Linked DNA regions of Homo sapiens: all the other regions are linked to region 2. Evidence: promoter capture Hi-C in human tissues and cell types (Jung and others, 2019). All regions are on one chromosome and are shown on one strand. The core of a region is centred on a gene start or on the middle of the fragment in contact, and the rest is flanking DNA. Distances in the headings are between cores, read along the strand shown. Region 1 overlaps RXRA (retinoid X receptor alpha). Region 2 holds the start of NACC2 (NACC family member 2). Region 3 holds the start of TUBB4B (tubulin beta 4B class IVb).

Region 1 (4,596 bases), core at 384-2,883, 1.7 Mb after region 2:
CTAAAGTATTAGCTATGCGTCCCAGCTAAGGCATTGCTAAGGATTGGGAACGGCTAAAGCTGTCTGCTCCAAAGCATCTTAAAATAGATGCATCTCCTGCCTTGAGATATTCATTCGAACCCGGATTTCACCAAAGGAGGGTCCTTATGTACTTGCTTACACGAAGCAAATTTATAGGAAAACAGGGGAAACGTCTTGATTAAAAATAAACACAAAACACTGGTAACCGCTCCGCCTTTCCTGGGTGGCGCTGGTGTGCGGCTCTCTCCACACGCGTCTCTCTGTACAGCACATACATGTTTACACCACACACCTGCGTGGACGAGCACCAGATCACGCACCCCAGCTCCACGACAGGGACACCAGCCGACTACCCACAGGCTGCACATTCCGGCAGGGCCCTCCTGGGTGCCCCACGGGGAGGGGCTCGGGGTCATCTCCAGCACTGCCACCAGGCCGCCAGCCCAGAATTCTTGGGAAACACCGTGCTCGGAAAACCGAAGGTCAGGGCTGTCCTTCCCAGAGGCCGTGTGCTTCCAGGGTGCGGAGGGCCGGCGGCTGACACAGGCCCCAGGGTGGAAGGTCCTGGCAGGCCAGCTTCCAAGCATGCCCGACGCAGCCTAGGGGAGCCCGGCTCTGTGGCATCTTCACTCCTGAGCCTCAGGAGCCCCATCTGAACGGCAAAGCCGGGAGGTGACCAGCTGAGGAGCGTGCCTGAAGGTGCCGGGGTGCCCTGGGTCCCCAGGAAGCAGCCACTGGGAAGTGGGGGCCCTGCGGGGAAGCCGCTTCATCCAGCCGGGCCAAGGCGGGGACAGGCACAGGTGGCTAATGAGCTGATGTTAGTGCTATCTTTAGAAAATTAAAGATTGTCCCACCAAAATAATAATAATTACAAAAAATCACCTTAATTGAACTGGATTGGTAATACTACTACAGGTCTGGTTAAATAGAAATTCTACCTCTCTACTCAGTGATGAGCCGCACTCCCCACACATCACCTTTTCAAACCAACAGCACTGTACAACTACAAGGCCGATGAGAAAGGGACGGGAAGGCTGCGGGAAGTGCCCGGGACACGTAGAGCGGTGGGTAAGGCTGCTGTGGCCAGGGAGGCCAGGTTCTGCTTTCAGGGGTTGGCGGCCGGGGGGCTTCAGTGCTTTACAGCCAGCCAGCCAGCCAGCCAGCGCCGGAAACGACAAAGTTCCCAAGAAGCAGCCGACCCCCCGCAACGGAGGCCCCGTCCCTGGGCTTTTTCCTCTGGAGCCGCGGGCATTCCCAAGGGTCCGGGCACGGATGGGTGGGCGCTGGCTGCAGAAGGCACCAGGTGTTGGCGTTGGGTCTTTTGCACTCCCACCGCTGGGGCCCCAAGAGTACCTGCACCCTCCTGCCATTTCCACCACACCCGCCAGGGGCAGCTGGGGCTTCCTGGCAGTGCCTGGGAGGGGCCCAGCTGGCCGGGGACCTGGTACAGGTATGAGGCTCAACACTCTGCCTCAGGACGGTGGATCGGGCAGGGGGCCACCTCTAGGGATCCACAACGCTGAAAGGCAGGGGTGGAGGGCGGCGGGGAGGAGAGGCTTCTGGAATCTCTGACAGCCTGTCTCGGGCACAGACTCAGCTGCAGGCTCCACTCGGGTGCCTAAGCTCAGCTCTGGCTGGGAGCTCCAGGAAGGCAAAGAATGGACACTTTCTTCCCCACCAAGGCTGGAAAGCTGCCTCTCCAAGCCACTGCCTCCCGGTCCAACCTGTAGGCAGCTCCCCTCACCACTGAGGAAGCCCCTGCTCCAGGTGGGGAAAGACTATGGAGAAGGCGTCCACCCCCCCGCATCATTCCTAGACTGCGGCTGGGAAGACAAGACCCCCTCCGGTATCCCCCCCATCCACCCTCTGTTCAGGCACCTGCCACTGACAAAGGCTGGGTCCACGGGACTGAGGCGTGAACGGGAAAAGTACTCAGGCCAAAGGGAGGGCCTTCCAGTGCAAAAGAGGCGAGTTCAACCTGAGAGGGCCCCGCACCACCGGAGCCCGGGGGCAGAGCCTGCGGGAGGAGCGCCAGGCCGCACTGGGCTGAGCCAGGGAGGCCCCAAGCCCCGCCCCCACCCCACCTTCAACCAGAGCAGGCGTTCAGTGAGGCTCCCAAGTAAGGCTCTGGGTGAACAACGCTGTCCGTGGACAATACCAGGCTGGGTGGTCCCACCAGGGCCTGCGTGTGGCCCAGGCCCGAGGGCGCTGCGACTCCGGGTTCTCAGATTCCAAGAGTCTTTTAGACACAACTGGCAGCCAGAGAGAAGGCCTGAGCAGGGGTCCCACCAATGCCCCGGCAGAGCCACTCCAGGCCGCGGAGCATCTGCCCCACCCACGAGGCTCCCAGTTCCTGAGCCCCTCTCTCTCCAGGCCACCTGCCCCCTCTGAGGGAAACCAACAGGCCACCCTCCTCCCCTCCCATCCCCGCGGGCCTCACAGATGGCTGCAGGTCCGCAGAGCCCTGTGCCTCCAGCAAGGCCAGTGAGGTGGTGATGCCCCACCCTGCCCGAGCCAGGGCCAGCCCTGCAGGAAACAAGGACAAGCCTCAGCCCACCCCGCAGAGCAAGGAGAAGACTCAGGCTGGGGAGGGGCCGGGGCACTCTGGTCTGAACGGGGAGTCGGGAGTCTGAAACCAGAACACCAAGGCAGAGAGAAAACAGGGGGGTGAGTGACCCGCCCCTGCAGCCTGGAGGTGGCCCCGAAACCTTGCACAGAGGGCAGCTCATGTTCTCATTGGCTCGAGGGCAAAACTGTGAGTTATCTTTGGAAAAAGGGGCTACCTTCCCCCTCACTCAGAGCACAGGGCAGCTTGCTTGCCCCACGAGTCCCCTCTCATCCCCGAGGCGGCTGAGGTCTTTGCTGATGACACACCAGCTTGCGCCCCCAGCTGTCCCCTCCTGATTAGGGGGAAGCTGTCACGGGCTGGCTGGGCACCAGTATTCAGAGCAGATGAAGATGTCACTCCAGACAGGAGGGCCACACAGGAATTCTGAAAACCAGCATCGATAAACAGCAACGGAAACAAAAGCCCCGTTCCCAACTCCTGCAGCTCCAGGGCTGGGGCCCGAAGACCCTGTAGTCGCCCAAGCCCCGTGGGGTGTGGCAGGGTGTCCTGAGAGCCCGGTGGGGAGGCGCCTGGCTGGGCTCACGCTAGTTCTTGCCACGAAGGCTGCTGCCTCAGGAAAGCCACTGCCCTGGGCCACAGACAAGTAGTAACAGAAATAAGGAGGGTGACAACACATCTCTTAGGCAGAGCAGTGACAGGCTGTGCCCCAAAGTCCAAACAGGCCAGGCAGAGAAGGGCAGGGACAGGGCTCAGGCTGAGAAGAACAGCTGGCGTCCAGGCAGGGTGGCCAGAACGGGTGGGCACAAAGGATGGGCCCGCAGGCCTAAGTCATTTGGTGCGGCGCCTCCAGCATCTCCATAAGGAAGGTGTCAATGGGTGTGTCCCCGATGAGCTTGAAGAAGAAGAGATGTTCCAGGCATTTGAGCCCGATGGAGCGCAGAGCCGGCAGGCGGAGCAAGAGCTTAGCGAACCTGCAGGGAACAGGTCTGGTGAGGGCCGGGCAAGGGGCATGGGCAGTTCTGCCCTGGCACTGGAGGCCTCCCTGGGGATGGGGCTGTGTCTGATACCCCAACCCCTCTGAGGCTGGTCTGTAGCCCTGAATCTGCCTATGCCAAGCCTCCAGAAGGAAGGAGGGGAGGCTAGAAGGAAACAGAGGCAGTGGCAACCCAGAGCCAGGACAGAGTGAAGGGAGATCCCTGGGTCTGAGGACGGAGATGAAGGGCCAGGGGCCAGACAGCAGCTGGCTAGGGCAGACTGAATAGCTCTTTGTGAAGAAGTTAAAAATTGCAGGCAGTTGGGCATGATGGCTCACACTTGTAATCTCAGCACTTTGAGAGGCCGAGGTGGGAGGATGGCTTGAGGCCAGGAGTTCGAGACCAGCCTGGGCAACGCAGTGAGACCCTGTCTCTACAAAAGAAAAAGAGAAAAACAGTAGCAAGGCGTGGTGGTGCATGCCTGCAGGGAGGACCGCTTGAGCCCAGGAGGTTGAGGCTGCAATGAGCTACGATCGCAGCACTGCACTCCAGCCTGGGCGACACAGCCAGACTGTCTCTCAAAAAATGAAAAACTGTGGGCCATGACAGCCGGGAGCGGGTGTGAGTATCAGTAATGCATCTGGCTGCAGCAGCCATCACAGCAAGAGACTGCGGGGCTTGTAAGGGAAAGGGCTGCTGAGCACACTGGTGAGTCGCAGGGAACAGGCCCGGCACATGGTGGGCAACCAAGAAGTCAAAGAGCATCAGGCGGGGGAGGGGGAGTCAGGCTGCACCCCCACTGCAGGTGGAGCCAGGCCTGACTTGGGAGCTGTGTAACGGTGCAAGACCCTTTCCATAAAGCATCAGCACCCCATGAGTGCCTCCCACGGCACCTTGTGCAGGGCTGTGGGCCCCAGACCAGGGCCACCCCTTCCTCAGAAATAGCTCTGCTGGCATTGGGCACAGCATGGTCAGAGAAGGCTGGCCGGGGAGGGAGGGAGCACGGGTTGGTCCTCAGGGCCTGGCCCATCC
Region 2 (4,692 bases), core at 1,730-4,229:
GCTGGGTCCTGGTCACCCAATCACCCGGGCTTGTGCTCTGAGCAAGAAGGACATTGGGGAGCTCTTGGGGGTTCTGAGCGGGTGGGGGTAATCCAACAGGTTTAGAAGCAGCCCTGTGCTGCTGTGTTGTGACAGGCTGGGGCAGGGCTGGAGGGGAGGCTAGGGACCGGGGTGGGGAAGGGGGCTGTGGCAATCACTGGAGAACAGGGCAGTTGTGGACCAGGAGGGTGGCTCCGACATGACTTTAACACAGAGCTGTTAGGATGGGCACAGACTGGATCTGGCGTGAGATTGGGGTGGGATGTCACCACCTGCACAATGGTAGCAGCACCTGGAGAGCCATCAAAGGCTTCTGCCATCCAGGGGAGGACACGCAGGTGTCCAGGCAAACAGGTTGGTCCTCTGTGTATGACTCCTGAGCGCACCCAGGGGCTCTGCAGTGTCTGCAGATGTGGCTTGTGACCTCCCCTTACCCCCTGCCCAATGCTTTCTGGATGGAAGGGGAAAAATCAAGTTGCAAGGCCGTGAGAACTCAGGCCTGGATCCCGGATGGGGCCTCCCTGAGCTGGAGACCCATAGCAGCGGTGCTGCTATGCTCAGTTGAGACTGTGGCCCCCAGGCCCTTGTAGCAGCCAGGAATCAACAAGATCAAATGCAGGGAGGAGATGCGGAGGATGCACCCGGGGTGAGCCCCACTCAGCCCAGGCCCTGCTGGGGACCCCTGAGTGAGCCCCAGGCTAAGCTGTAAAACGGGAATAAGGCTGGGCGCAGTGGCTCACACCTGTGATCCCAGCACTTCGGGAGGTTGAGGCAGGTGGATCACCTGAGGTCAGGAGTTCAAGACCAGCCTGCCTAACATGGTGAAACCCCGTCTCTACTAAAAATACAAAAATTAGCTGGGCGTGGTGGCACGTGCCGATAATGCCAGCTACTCGGGAGGCTGAGGCAGGAGAATCGCTTGAACCCGGGAGGCAGAGGTTACAGTGAGCTGAGATCGCGCCACTGCACCCCAGCCTGGGCAACAGTGTGAGACTCGGACTCAAAAAAAAAAAAAAAAAAAGGAATAAACAGAGCTCACCTCATGGTACTGTTGTGAACGTTAAATGCGGTAAGGTGTACATACTCAGTAGCACGGGCCTGGAATTCAGTAGGGATGCAGGGTTTGCTTTAAAAGGTGCAAATATATGTTGGTGTACATACGTATAGGCACACAGAAATTGGGGAATTGATTTCTGCTTATCCGCTATCTTCTAAACACTTTTCAATGCTTTCCAAATATCCTTCACTAAGGAAGAATGTCTTTAATATTTAGAAAATAAAAGTGATTAAAACAATCATTCCCATCCCTGGAGGGCCACGGGTCCTAGTGGGTAGCCCCTTGAGGCCTGCCCCAGGGCTGGAAGCAGCTCCAGGCATCTGTCTCTGGGATTCACGATTCTCAGGGGCTTGGGGTAGCTATGCTCACTGAGAGATCCTGCAGAGATTGTAAAGTCAGGCCTAGGAAGCACCAGAACCCTGAGGCTGCTGAGCTCATGCCCTGGGTGTAGGAGGCACTCAGAACCCTCCTACCCCACCTCCTTCCCACAGTAGACTGCGGGGCGGGTTTGGAAGTGGCAGTGGTGGGGGGAGGGGGGTTGGGGTGTGGGACCTGGGACTGCATTTAGGTCTAGATGGGACTCTGTGGGGAGAGCCCAGAGTCCCTGCGGGGTTCCATACTCACCCCCATACAAGGCAAGCCAGGGAGTGAAGTGTGTGTGTGTGTGTGTGTGTGTGTTCTGGACGCAGAGCTGAATAGAACCTAAAGTTGGGGTCAAGGGCCAGTCTGTGGCCAAGATCAAGGGCCTAGCTTGAGGTTGGGGTGACAAGAACCTGGCCAAGCTTCTGATGATTTGTCCAGGGAATGACCTTGGCTGACTGTGCCAGAAGGGCTGTAGCCCCAGGTTTCTGATCCCCAGAGCCCCAAAGGCGTTCTCTGGGATGCTGGTGGCCATCTCCTTCTCAACCCTTCTCCCAGCGCCCTCGCTCGGGACCACTGAGGCGGTATCACTCCATTCTCCTGCAAGGACCCTTGAGCGTGCTGTGGGAGTGAGGCTGGCTTAGCCTCTGAGGACCACTGCAGCCTGTCCTGACCTCAGGCCCCAGGTTAGGGGGCAGCTGAGGAGGGGTCTCTGGGTCTTTCCGGGTGTGTGGCCGTTTTATTTCCGTGCCCTTGTTTTAAAACTGCACCTCTGTCCTCAGGAGCGTGGCCTTGGGCAGATGGAGAGCTGCGTGGCCGGTGCCGGAATGACTGTCAACGCCCCAGTGCGCCCGGATCACACCAGGCCTGAAGGCAGCGCCAGGCCCAGTCCAGGCAGCTTGCAGTTCCCGGGCCGCAGGGACGGGCGCCGGAGCCCCGCAGACGTTCGCCCAAGGGCGCTCCCGTATCCTCGTCTTTCACGGCCCGCCTGAGCGTCCAGGGCGGCTGCGGATGCGCGCACTTCCCCCGCCCGGATCCCGGAGGCTGCACCGTGCGGACGCGACTGCCGCGGGCAGGGCGCGCGCCGGGGGCGGGGTAGGGGGGCCCGGGGGCTCTCCCGGGCTTAGCGAGTCCGGCCGAGGCCGGGGCCCGGGGAGGGCGGAGGGCGGCGCTCCAGGTCCTTTCCCGACCCGGCCGCCGAGCTCCGTCCTCTGCGCCGCGGCGTCCGGCTCCCGCCGGGTGTCCCGCGCAGGGTCGACCGCCGGCAGCTCCGGAAGGAGGACGCGCGAGGGGCGAGGAGCTGCCGCCTCCCCTCCCCAGCGCTCGGGGTTCCCCACGCCCCGCCGGCCCCCACTGGGGACCCTCCCGGCCCCCGGACCCCAGCCCCGACCCCGGGAGCCCACCTGGCTGCCAGTGCGCGCGCGCGCGCGGCCGGCGCGCTGTCCCTTTAACGGCCCGCGGGCACCTCCCCCGCCGCCGCCCCGCCCCCGCCGCGGTGCGGCCGCCGGTGCTGGGCGAGGTCGGAGAAAGTCCATGGGAGCCGGAGCGCCGGGACGCCAAGCACTTCCTGCCGCGGGCGGCGCGCCGCAGCTGCCCAGGCCGGACCGGGCCGGGCGCCCGCAGGTACCGCCAACTTGGCGCGCGCGGCCGCCCCCGGGTTACGCCGCCGGGCGGGGTCGTCCCACGGGCCGGGCCCGCACTTCCCGCAAACTCCGCGGCCGCCCAACTTGGCGCGAGCCCCCTGCCGCAGTGCCGGCCGCGCGGGGCGGGTGCGGCCGAGTTCCGCGCCGGCCCGGGCGTGCGCGCGGGAACCGGCCTCGGGAGCCCGCGGAGGGGGGCCGGGCGGGGCCGGGGGGTCCCGGCGGAGGCGCCCGCGACCCCGGGCCGGGACGCCGCGCCGCGCGTTCGGGGAGACCCCGGCTCCGGGCGTCCCGGGGCGCTCCCCGCCGCCTGCTGGGTTTCCCTGGATTTCTGGGGACCCGCGCGGCCTCCCCAGGGACCCGACTGGCCGATCCAGCCCTCCGGGTGGGGAAGCCGGGGCAGGACTGGCCCGGGGCCAGGGCGGAGGTACCCACCCCTCCCGGCGCATCTGCGCAGCTGCCTGGCCCAGCCGGGCCCGCGCCTCGCCCTCCCGGTCCAGGTGGGCCCGTTCGTGGGTCGTCACCGCCTCCCGCGCCTCCCCCACTCGGGCCCCAGCCTGGGGAGAAACTGGGGTCCGGCCGCAGGGGGAGGGGGCTCTGCCTCTTGCCAGCTTCTGTGCCTCTGCGGAGCTGAGGTCGGGGGGCCCCAGCTCCTTCTCTAAGAAACTCAGCGGAGCCCGGGGCCCGCCGCGCACCCCGCACGGCCAGGGCGGACCGAGGCCTTCCGACGGAGTTTCCTGCTTCTCTTGCTGGGATCGTGTGGGGTCGGAGGTCAGAGGTCACCTCCCAGCCCCTCTGCCAGGCTCTGGGGGAAGTTTGGTCTTGGACTCTCGTCGTGGAGCCGCTTAAACCTGTGGGTCTGAAGGCCGCGAGGCCGGGTCCCTGGAGTTGGCCTCCCAGGCCGTTCCACTCCCTCCCCCAACCCCCGCGCGGGGCCTCCGGATTGGAGGTGTTTCACCCACGTGCTGGTGGGCCCGTCTCCCTGGGCCGCTGGGTGCCCTGAGCTGTGTTCTCTGCTGCGCGTTCCTTCCTGTGTGTGGCGGGGGTGCTGACCCGGGGGTGCCCAAGGCAGCCCGGACTCCCATCCCGTGGAGCTGCCTCCGGGAGCGCGTGCACCTTGGTGTTCCCGCCCGCCAGCGCGGCCGCACTCTCCTGCCAGAGTCCGTGTCCCTCCAGGTCGCCCCTTCTTCTCACCCACCCCTCTTTTCGTCTGGCAGGCTCCTGACCTCCTTCCCTCCTGTTCTCCAGTGGGACACTCAGCTCAGCATTCTGCAGGGTGTTTTAGCCTGTAGCACCCCCCAGCAGGGGCGCCTAGAGTTAGGTCAGGGTTCAGGCAGCCCCCGCCCCACCCGCCACCTCTCAGCCACCCACCCCTTCTTCTCCCGGCCACCGTTGGAGCACCCCTCTGGTCCTCTGTGGGGCCTTTCCCAGCCCCTCCCTTAAAGAGGCCTCTTGGCGTTTTCCCCTGGGGTCACTGTTGGGTGGTAGCTGGGCCAGAGTCCAAGGGGAGGAAATAAAAGGAGCTGCCACCCAAGGTGGTGGCCCCCTGTCCTTTCGGCAAAGCCACTTGGAATGGGCACAGAGAGTGGAACAAGA
Region 3 (4,727 bases), core at 2,175-4,674, 1.1 Mb before region 2:
ACCTGGGTAATGGGGTTGAATTACCGAGACGGCGTCATGCAAGCCATGGACGAATTCGACAAGAGCCAGGTAGGAAAGCGCCATCCAGGGCCTGCTCCCAGCTCACACACACACTTCCTCTCCTGCCTGGCAGCTTCCCTGGAGGGTGCCTTGAAGGCCAGGTTCCCTGAGAAGCCTGAGGAGGGGGCTCTGCCTGGCTCTCTCCTGTCCCCGGAGGTGCCGCCCCAACCCCTCTCTCCTGAGTCTTGCTTGGATCCCTGCACTCAAGTTTTGGAGTCGGGGGTAGGGGGATGCAGAAGGCTGGGAGCATTAGCAGCTTTCCCACGGAGTGCCGGCCCTCCGGCCAGGCCCCCACTGGGACAACTTGACTATCTGTTTGCCTGCCGGGGAGGGAGCTTGTTAGCACCTTCCTGTCTCCCCAGTTCCTGTTTAGAAACCCCCACTGTGACCTGGGCGAGAAGCTGCCTGGAACACACTGGCCCAGCAACCACATCTACAGCAGCCAAGGCCTGATCCCCTTCTACATGGGGTTCATCCCCGGTGAGTAGAGTGGGCAGGGTCACATGGACACACCCCGGCCAATGTGGGGAGGGACGGCTCTACCTGCTCACCCTTCATTGCTGGTTCAGGACCACCTGTCTGACCATTACCAGGGTCCCACCTTGGTTGGGGTAGGATTGTCTGCCATCCTCCCTACCCCTTTTGGAAGGGGGGTCACTGGACCCACCTAAGTCCCAGACACAGGCCGAGCCCCAAGGTTGGGTACCTGGAACAGGACAGGCCTGCCTTCAACAAGCAAGTTCCCCACCAAGCAGATACCCAGGGCCCAGGGCAGCCCCACACTTCTCTGAAGCCTGGGTGTCCAGCCCATGCTGGTCCTGGGCACATAAGCCCAGCTCAGCTGCAGCCTGGCTCCCCGCAGCCATGCAGGACAACTACGCCCTGACATTCGGCAACAGCACCCGGAGGGCCTACTGGAAGGAATGGGCAAAGCGAAACCACACACTATGAAAATGCTTTAATGGTGGTGTCTGTACAGCATGGATGTGGACAGGGAAAACAGCAAGTGCACACAGTGGGACAGGCCACAGGACAGGCTGGGAGTGAATAAAGAGTTCACACTGCTTCCCTGCTTTCCCCAGTGACTGAAGGCTCTAGGCCACCTCCTCCTCAGCCTCCTCCTCGAACTCGCCCTCCTCCTCGGCTGTGGCATCCTGGTACTGCTGGTACTCGGACACCAGGTCATTCATGTTGCTCTCGGCCTCGGTGAACTCCATCTCGTCCATGCCCTCGCCCGTGTACCAGTGCAGGAAGGCCTTGCGCCGGAACATGGCCGTGAACTGCTCGGAGATGCGCTTGAACAGCTCCTGGATGGCCGTGCTGTTGCCAATGAAGGTGGCGGACATTTTTAGCCCCCGAGGTGGGATGTCACAGACAGCCGTTTTCACATTGTTGGGGATCCACTCAACAAAATAGCTGCTGTTTTTGTTTTGGACATTAAGCATTTGCTCATCCACCTCCTTCATGGACATGCGGCCCCTGAACACGGCGGCAACCGTCAGGTAGCGGCCATGGCGGGGGTCGCAGGCAGCCATCATGTTCTTGGCATCAAACATCTGCTGGGTGAGCTCGGGCACGGTCAGCGCCCGGTACTGCTGGCTGCCCCGGCTGGTCAGTGGGGCAAAGCCGGGCATGAAGAAGTGCAGCCGGGGAAACGGGACCATGTTCACAGCCAGCTTCCGCAGGTCAGCATTGAGCTGGCCTGGGAAGCGCAGGCAGGTGGTGACCCCACTCATGGTAGCAGACACCAGGTGGTTCAGGTCACCATAGGTGGGCGTGGTCAGCTTTAGGGTTCTGAAGCAAATGTCGTAGAGAGCTTCGTTATCAATGCAGTAGGTCTCGTCTGTGTTTTCTACGAGCTGGTGGACTGAGAGGGTGGCGTTGTAGGGCTCCACCACTGTGTCTGACACTTTGGGCGAAGGCACCACACTAAACGTGTTCATGATCCTGTCTGGGTACTCCTCCCGGATCTTGCTGATGAGGAGGGTACCCATCCCAGACCCAGTCCCCCCACCCAGGGAGTGGGTCAGCTGGAAACCCTGCAGGCAGTCACAGCTCTCAGCCTCCTTTCTCACAACATCCAGCACCGAGTCCACCAGCTCCGCGCCTTCTGTGTAGTGCCCCTTGGCCCAGTTGTTCCCAGCACCACTCTGACCTGTGAGAGAACACAGCTAATCATTTGTCAGCCAGGTAGACAGCACTACTGGTCACCGCCATGCGAAAAAAGCCGAGTGACATGGTGTGAGCTGACCACAGAATTCACCCTGGAGGTAGAGCAAACGGACCCTTCAAAGCCAAAAGACGGCAGCCTGCCCTGCTACGAATTAAGTCAGGGGCCAAACCTGACAGCTTAACAAACCCCTCCCCGGGGGGGCCACTGCCAATTCCCAAGGACAGAGGAACAGCCACTGCCCCAGCTCAGCTCCCTGCAGGGAGATTACGTGTGTGGCGGCTCCTCGCCTCGGCAGACAGCTGGACCTTGCTCCCAAAGCCGATTTAGTAGAGGGGATTGAGTGGCTCAGAGAAGAGGAGGGCGTCCAGGGGCCCCGGCTGCGCAGTTCCCACGGCGGTGCCCTTGGAGCAGCCCCTTGACCTTTGAGCCGCCGCCCAGTCCCCAGCCACGGCTCACCGAAAACGAAGTTGTCCGGCCGGAAGATCTGCCCGAAGGGCCCCGAGCGCACGGAGTCCATGGTGCCGGGCTCCAGATCCACGAGCACGGCGCGGGGCACGTACTTGCCGCCTGCGGGGACGGGAGGGCGTCAGCCAAGGCAGGGGCCGCGGGGTCCCCGGAGGGCGGTCGGGGAAGGGGCCGGGGCCTCACCGGTGGCCTCATTGTAGTACACGTTGATGCGTTCCAGCTGCAGGTCGCTGTCCCCGTGGTAGGTGCCCGTGGGGTCGATGCCGTGCTCATCGCTGATCACCTCCCAAAACTACAAGGGACGCGGGCGGGCCCGGGCGGGCCGGGGCTGAGTCACCGCGGCCGGTGCGCAGGGAGGCAGCCCCGCCCCGGACGGGCGCGGCAGCCCGGCCCTCCCCGCCCCTCCCCCGCCCCGCGCGCCCTGGCCGCCGGGTTCCTGGGGGCTTCGGTCGCCCGGCTCGGCCAATTCCCCGCGGAGGGGGCCCGGCGGCCGCAATGCGGGGGCGCCGCCCGGCCGCTGCTGCCGCCATCTTCCCCGGCCGCCCGCCCACACCGCCCGGCAGGCCCGCCTGGCCCCAGCGCCCCGGCAACTTACCTTGGCGCCGATTTGGTTGCCGCACTGCCCGGCCTGCAAGTGCACGATTTCCCTCATGATGGCGGCGGCGGCGGCGGGGAAGCAGGAGGAAGTAGACAAACAGCAGCAGAAGAGCGGGCGCGCAGAGTGCTACAACCGACGCTCCGCCAACGCTTATATACCCTCCCTGCCCGCCTCCGCTAGTCTCGGAATGGGCTGCCAGAACGAGGCTGGCAAGCTCCCTCGTTTGATTGGCCTTGCCCCCGTCAATCAAGCTGCCTAAGGTCCGCCTTTTTAAGCCAGTTTGGTCTTTATTGGTCAGCCGCAGCCTCCTATCTCCCTATCACAATCCCCCTCCTGGCGCCGCAGTGCTCCGTCCATTGGGTGTTTCAAATGATTGATTTGCCGTCTCATTGGCTGGCTGCCGGGAGCACGCCGCCAGGCTGGCGCTATTGGCTGCGCTGCTTCAGCGTCCTGGTAACCGCCGCAGTGCCGCGGCCGGCGCGCGGACGGGGTGGGGCGCAGGCGCGAGTGCGGGCTTCCGGTCGGGCGGCGGGCAGCTGCGCTGGGGGCGCCGAGGGAGGGCGGGCCCGACGGGCCTCGGGCAAGCGCAGTCTTGGCTCTGAGCCCGGGGCCTTTCGGGAGCCGGGAAGGGCAGGCTCGGTGGCGGCCCCACGTCCAGAGTTGCGCCCTCTCTGGCCTTGCGCCGGGACACGGCATCTGCGCGCTGGGCGGGTTCTGGAGCGGGGTCCGCACGGAGCGAGCCCGGGGCCTCCAGGCCGAGGAGGCTGCGATGCCTTAAAGGCAGGAAGATACACGGGCTCGGGGGCTGCGGCGGTGGAGGGGAGCTCTCCACAGAGCCGCAGAGGCCACGGAGTTTCCTGCTCCCGGGTGCCGCACGCCCACTGCCCTCGCGGTCGCGTGAGGGGAGCACGTGGGGGACGCCGCGCCCCGAGGGCCGGGGCGGAGGGCAGGGGAGGGGAGCGGAGGGGCGAGGCCTCCCCCGCAGCTGCGCGCCCTGCCCTGTTGTGGAGACGGCGCTGGCTCTGCGCCGGTCGCCTTGGTGCCTCGGCCCCGTGAGTGCGCGAGCTCCGTGGAGACCAGGACAGCGCCCAGACCTCCCTCGGCGGGTGGGCCCCGACCTCCGGGCTCCAGGGCCGGTATTCCAACCACAGGTCAGCGCGCTGGGGCTGAAACATACTTCTGTTAATGCTTTTCCTAATTTATGACTTGATTTTTACTTGGGTGGGAAAAGAAACTTAAAATGAATTACATGTGGTTGCGCCTGTTTAAAAACAAACGGGCTGTATTTTTGCAGCATTTTTATTTTACTTAATTTATTATTCTGAGACAGAGTCTCGCTCTGTCTCCCGGGCTGGAGTGCAGTGGCGCGATCTTGGCTCCCCGCCCCCCCCCAGGTTCAAGCGATTCTTCTGCCTCAGCCTCCCCAGTAGG

Evidence for each region. Contacts are between HindIII fragments. The study calls those that stand out against the background at their distance.
Region 1: a fragment that was not itself captured here is called in contact with the fragment with the promoter of NACC2 in region 2 in 1 of the 25 tissues and cell types used here (lymphoblastoid cells).
Region 3: a contact is called between the fragment with the promoter of TUBB4B here and the fragment with the promoter of NACC2 in region 2, in 1 of the 25 tissues and cell types used here (spleen).

What each region holds. Positions count from the first base shown.
Region 1 is chr9:134,435,432-134,440,027 of GRCh38, reverse strand. It overlaps RXRA (retinoid X receptor alpha), which reads right to left. Exons shown (of 10, transcript NM_002957.6): 10 at 1-3,561. The coding sequence ends at 3,414. Among named protein-coding and RNA genes, the nearest start is that of MIR4669, 58 kb to the right of the region's middle. RefSeq lists an enhancer at 2,498-3,066. The HindIII fragment of the contact is 5,892 bases long and covers 1-4,579 here.
Region 2 is chr9:136,093,576-136,098,267 of GRCh38, reverse strand. It overlaps NACC2 (NACC family member 2), which reads left to right and starts at 2,979. Exons shown (of 6, transcript NM_144653.5): 1 at 2,979-3,079. RefSeq lists silencers at 2,517-2,616, 2,937-3,066 and an enhancer at 4,272-4,692. The HindIII fragment of the contact is 19,137 bases long and covers 1-4,692 here.
Region 3 is chr9:137,239,984-137,244,710 of GRCh38, reverse strand. TUBB4B (tubulin beta 4B class IVb) reads right to left here and starts at 3,424. Exons shown (of 4, transcript NM_006088.6): 1 at 3,294-3,424; 2 at 2,882-2,990; 3 at 2,690-2,800; 4 at 1,004-2,215. The coding sequence starts at 3,350. The coding sequence ends at 1,155. CIMIP2A (ciliary microtubule inner protein 2A) reads left to right here. Exons shown (of 7, transcript NM_001001710.3): 5 at 1-69; 6 at 423-540; 7 at 923-1,112. The coding sequence ends at 1,011. RefSeq lists silencers at 3,020-3,249, 3,580-4,399. The HindIII fragment of the contact is 17,682 bases long and covers 1-4,727 here.